Linked DNA regions of Homo sapiens: region 1 is linked to region 2. The links are contacts of gene promoters, found by promoter capture Hi-C in blood cells and fetal thymus (Javierre and others, 2016). All regions are on one chromosome and are shown on one strand. The core of a region is centred on a gene start or on the middle of the fragment in contact, and the rest is flanking DNA. Distances in the headings are between cores, read along the strand shown.

What was found. The method cuts DNA at HindIII sites, captures the fragments that hold promoters and counts their contacts. A CHiCAGO score of 5 or more calls a contact.
Region 1: a contact is called between a fragment that was not itself captured here and the fragment with the promoter of BMPER in region 2, in 4 of 17 cell types (non-activated CD4 T cells, naive B cells, M2 macrophages and 1 more). The highest score is 8.1, in non-activated CD4 T cells.

The regions. Positions count from the first base shown.
Region 1 is chr7:32,767,968-32,770,859 of GRCh38, forward strand. No RefSeq gene overlaps it. Among named protein-coding and RNA genes, the nearest start is that of LINC00997, 11 kb to the left of the region's middle. The HindIII fragment of the contact is 240 bases long and covers 1,202-1,441 here.
Region 2 is chr7:33,903,986-33,906,858 of GRCh38, forward strand. It overlaps BMPER (BMP binding endothelial regulator), which reads left to right and starts at 1,554. Exons shown (of 15, transcript NM_001365308.1): 1 at 1,554-1,761; 2 at 2,833-2,873. The coding sequence starts at 1,629. The HindIII fragment of the contact is 6,002 bases long and covers 1-2,873 here.

The sequences.
Region 1 (2,892 bases), core at 72-2,571, 1.1 Mb before region 2:
GGTTTTTTTATCCAAACTTATTAGTAATTATAAGTGCAAAGAGATTAAATGCCCCAGTTAATAATCAAAGACTATCAGACTGATATACACCATAATAGATATGAAAAAATATTCTTAATAGCACTAATTATAAGAGCCTCAAATTGGAGGCAAAACAAATGCCCATTAGCAGTAGAATAGATAAATAAACTATGGTATATTTCATACAATGGAATACTTTACAGCAACAAAAAAAAATGAAGAAACTGCATATGCTTGCAGCAACATAAAAAAACTTCTAAAAACATAATATAAAGGTCAAAGACAGAGACATTAAAGATATCATATGATCTCATTTATATGAAATTCAAAACTAGCCAAAATTAAATTATCATATTTGGCAATGCACACATAGGTAATTGTATTAGTCCATTTTTCACACTGCTGATAAAGACATACCCAAGACTGGGCAATTTACAAAAGAAAGAGGTTTATTGGACTTACAGTTCCACATGGCTGGGGAGGCTTCACAATCATGGCAGAAGGCAAGGAGGAGCAAGTCACATCTTACATGGATGGCAGCAGTCAAAGAGCAACCTTGTGCAGAGAAACTCCCATTTTTAAAACCATCAGATCTTGTGAGACCCATTCACTATCACAAGAACAGTACAGGAAAGACCCATCCCCATGATTCAGTCATCTCCCACTGGGTCCCTTCCACAACACGTGGGAATTATGGGAGCTACAAGATGAGATTTGGGTGGGGACACAGAGCCAAACCATATCAGTGATAAAACTCTAAAGCAAAGCAGGAAATCACTTTTTGTAAGAGTCCAGATTGAAATATCTTTGTGGGGAGAGGGAGGAGATGTACAGAGAGGGGCTGGCAGAGTCTCTTTTTTGCTCTAGCTGGCAGGTTCAAGGGTGTTCAGGTTATTTTGGAAGCAGTGCAGAGAAGGGAGCCAGACTAGAAACAGGGAGGTGATCAACTGGGTCTCGGTTACATACAGAAAACAGCAGAGACAGCTGAAAGATCCTTCTCTGTGTTCACAGCCATCATCTATGACTAGCATCCAGTGATAGCAGGAACACTGATGCCAACATTTTTCAAAGTTTGCAGAAACGACTTGGCTCCTCCACAGAGCATTGTGAGTCAGTTCAGAAGAAATCAATATCCATCTTCTGTTCTCTTCTTGCCTGCCAAGGGGACCTGGAATCCTTAAGCTTTTGCTCCTGGTTTCCCACTTCAATATTCATCCAAAGAGTCTCCTCCTGCTTGTTTTCATTCTTTCTGCCCTTCCTTGTCCCCCAGGGTGGAGATCTCAAGTGCATAATACCCCACTATGCGGTGATGTTAGCCCCAGAGCACAGCTGAACACAGCATTCCTCAGGAGAAGATTCATCCTCTATATAGGGAACACTGGAGATATTGCTGCTCTAACCCCAAAGAACTCATCACCAAAGCTTGGGACTTTGGGCCCATGGTAGGCAACTGGAAGAGCTATTTGTGGCAAACAGTGTAACTCAAACATCATCATAACTATCTGACAGACTTTAAGGAGGCCAATCCAATGTTCTCAAGCCTGGCTGCATCATGAATCACTCAAGGAATTTATTTTTTATCCAGATTTCTGAACCCCCAACCTCGATTCTGACTTACTGGGTTCTGAGTAGAACATGGAAATCTGTATTTACAGCAACTCACCCAGGTGATTTATCCAGGTGGCTCTGGTGCAACTCTTCAATGGGATGGTAATTAGGAGCATCCCAGGGGGTCAGAGCTCACGTACCTCATGGCCAGGAACTGTGTAGGCCTCCTTTGCTTACATCTAAATGTTTTCCCCTGGTCCAACTGGAATACGAATGTTACCTCCTAAGAGTCCAACTTTATCACTTCTTCTAACCATCTAGATATCTGCTGGTAAACTCAAGACATCTCTAATTCTTCCTCTTTCCACTAGAGATTAAATGCATTTTTTTCACATAAAGATAGACTTTAATCTAATGTGGTTATGTATGCATATAAATGTCCAAATGAGAGCCAAGTTGGGAAATATGGCCATGTGTTGATGTGATGTCTTGGAACAAGGAAGGACACCTCTGCAGAGGTGTTTTGAGGGCTATACCAACATGCTGATGTGATCCCTTATCAAAGCACTCTAGAGCAGCCATTCTTAAATATTTTGGCCTCAAAAAGACCAAACAAGTCCTTTATGATTGCTTAAGTGTATTGTATGCATTGATATTTACATGGATATTTATAATCCATTCATGTTAAAACTTTAAAATGAAAAAATATTTGTTTATAAATCATTTACAAATAACAATAATAAACTCACTATATTAACAGAAATATCTTTTATATGAAAATAACTATTTTCAACAAAAATTTAGTGAGAAAAGTGACATTGTTTTAACTTTATGCAAATCTCTTTAAGTTTGACTTAATAGAAGACAGATTTTCATATCTTCTGCATTCAATCTGTTGCAATATGCTGTTTTGATGGAAATATATAAGGAAAATCAGTCCTCACAAATATGTAGTTAGCAAAAAAAAGAGTATTTTAATCTCCCTCTGCACTTAATCTGTTGCATTATAACATGCCATGTAACCTCTGGAAAATTCCACTGTACACATGACAGAACAAAAATGAAAAAGGCAAGTAACATCTTAATACTGTTAGAAAAATAGTTTTGACTTCACAGACCCCCAGGATTTTCAGACTTGGCCCCCACTTCCCCACTCTCCCCACCCCCATCCTAGTTCTGGACCATGCTTTGGAGACTGAAGACTGCATCTTCAAAGAAAAGCAACGTGCTCCTTTCTTTGCCAATAGACAGCCATTGCTGTAACACTGTCCTCTTGGACACAAAGCTGAGGCAGCTGAGGCGGCTGAGGCAGGCAAGCTAAGG
Region 2 (2,873 bases), core at 304-2,803:
CTCATTTATTTTCAAAGCTGTAGTTTCCACAATGGAAACAACCCACTTTGCCTGGAGACCCTTAGGTCCGTTCCGTGGGGACCCGGTTTCAACTCTTGGACAGAGGAAGTCGGTAGTCCACCGTGAGCTCAAGGACAGCTAGCTGATCGTCAGGTCCCAACACTTGCCAAGCGTCCCTCACTCCCACCTCGCGCCTTCGTACTTTGGTTACAAAAATCATCTCTCTGCGATTGCACCCCTTTTGAGTAGAGGGTGCCACTGCGTGGGGAGGAGGCGGCGATTCAGCAGGGGGATCACAGGAGCTGACTCCCCGACACCCAGTGCTGCAGAGGCGAGAGGGCGCAGCCGGGCTGAGAGAGCGACGGAGCTCCGAGCTGCAGAGGCCGCCGCGCGGCGGCCCCCGCCAGAGATGAGCGGTGGGGCGGGGGTTCCTCCCTCTTTTCGGGTGAATGAATGATTAGTCAAACACCACCTCCCCGCCCCGGTCCGCCCGAGATTGGAAGGGAGGAGTCTCGGAGCGACTGTTCATTTTTTAAGGACGAAAGGCGTTTGCCTCGGTACGTTTTTAAATCGACCTTGTGTGTGTTTCAACTTCGGTCATCCCTAGTGTCAGGACGCGCAGACAGCTAAGCACAGAACACATCTCTAAGGCCACTTGCCCCTCTGTCCGCTCAGCCCCCTGAGTTCGCTGTCGCGCCCCCGCCAGAGGGAAGCAAAGCAGGGCATGAAAAGTTGCGGGGGCCCTACTGCCCCGGGTGTGTCGCTCCTTCCCAAAGGTGGGGCACCCGGGAGCGAGCAGGGTGGTGGGGCGCCCCTGCGTCCCGTTTGCTGCTCCCTCGCTGGATTGGGGCACCCGGGCCTGAGCGCTAGTGCTGCGGCATCCCCGGGGCTCCCCCAAGAAAGGGAGGAGGAGCCGCGCTCGCCCGGACAGTGGAGACGCGCCTTCTCGGCTCTGGTCCGCGCCCTGGGGCCCTGGCCTCCCTGGAGGGGCTGGGGAACTGGAAGCTGGGCCGAGAGAGTTCCCGCTGCAGCTATCGCGCAGTCCCTCCTGCGCCCGGGCGCCCCCAGCGGGTTCCGGGAGGCGCCCGGTGAGCCCACGTCTGTTGCGGCGGAGCGAGCGCGCTCCGGGAGGGCCGAGAGCCGGCGGGGCTGGCAGGAGGTGAGGAGTGCGGGAGTGGAGGACGCTGCGGCAGCGACAGCGACAGCCCCCGAAACAGTAGCGGCAGCCCGGGCGGCGGCTGAGCGGCAGTGCGCAGTCGGCAGCGCCGCAGCTCCTCTCAGTCTATCTCCGGCTGCCGCAACACCCCTTCCTCCTGGCCCCCTCTCCGGCGCTGAGGGGCTGACTGCTAAGCCACTGCAAGCAACTCCCTCAGGAAAAAAAAAAAAAAAGCCGCATCGGAGGAGCCTGGCCGCAGGACCCCTCCTCCCCGGGCGCCCCCACACCTTGGTCTCTCCCCCCGCCCTCCCTCACACCCCCCCGCCCCCCAGCTCTCGGGCGCCCGCCTCCCTCCTTCGCGGACGGTCTCCCGACACGCCGGCTGAGAGCCCTTTTCGACTGTGAGCTGCGGCAGCTGAGCAGAGGCGGCGGCGCGGGACCTGCAGTCGCCAGGGATTCCCTCCAGGTGACGATGCTCTGGTTCTCCGGCGTCGGGGCTCTGGCTGAGCGTTACTGCCGCCGCTCGCCTGGGATTACGTGCTGCGTCTTGCTGCTACTCAATTGCTCGGGGGTCCCCATGTCTCTGGCTTCCTCCTTCTTGACAGGTAGGGGAGGGGGCGGGAGGGACCGGCCCTCCGGGACGCCGGTTTGGTACCTGGGAAAGGTGGCGCTGGCTTGCCCCGGGGATGGGAGGGTGGGGAGCGCGCACCTTGGCGCTTGCCCTGCGCTGGTCGATGGGGATGAAGCGAAGCCCCGGGAGGGCTGGGAAGGCTGGTGAAGAGGTTGCGGGCTGAGAGGCTGTTGCCTTCAATGTAGTAATAATAGACATTCTTCTATTTGAATTTGAGAAATTATTTTATTTATTTTTAATGCTTTCCTCAACTTTTATTTTAATCTTTCCCTCTGTAGAACTCAGGAAAAAAATTTGTGCAGTTTTCCGCACATCTTCCTTTCTCATCTTTGGGGTTGCAATACATCCACTGTGCTAGGAGTGCTTTTTAAAGCACTGGCTCTCAAGACCTTGAATTTAAAGAAACTATCATTTAAAAAGGGCACTAATAGCCGGATATAATAATTATATGTTTTCAGGCAGGTGAAGACCTCAGCTGCTATTCTGAAGGACATACTTTACTGACACCTGGTGCAGAAAAGAAAATATGGAGTCAATTTCTAAGAGAAGGGAAAAGGGGATTGCGTTTCAAAAAGTGATTTAAACCTAAGACAATGCGAGACAGATTCATAGAAAGGCCTGTTTATTGACTCAGTTCTGAGTTTTGGTCAATTTAAAATCTGCCCCAATTTGAGGGTTTTTTTAAATTTTATTTTTTATTTTTTTCTTTGCGTATGGGGCTGTGTGCTTAGTTGAAATATCTTCATAAAGGAGGAGTGTTATTAAAAATCCAGTGAAATACTTGGAATTGTGCTTAGACCATCTGAGAACAGATAATTTATCCCTATATCATAGTCTTTTCTTTTTTGAACCTGTTTAAATAAAATTATTGAAAATGGAGTTGGGGGCAGAGGTTTTGCTTTGGTGAATTTAATAATTTAAACCACATTAAGAATTCTGAAGTTTGGGTAGAGGTTTCAAAAAGGATTAGTGTAAAAATTTTAAATGTTGAAATCATGCTGCTAAGCTAACTTTAAATGAAACATTTTTCCCCCCTGAATTTCAGGTTCTGTTGCAAAATGTGAAAATGAAGGTGAAGTCCTCCAG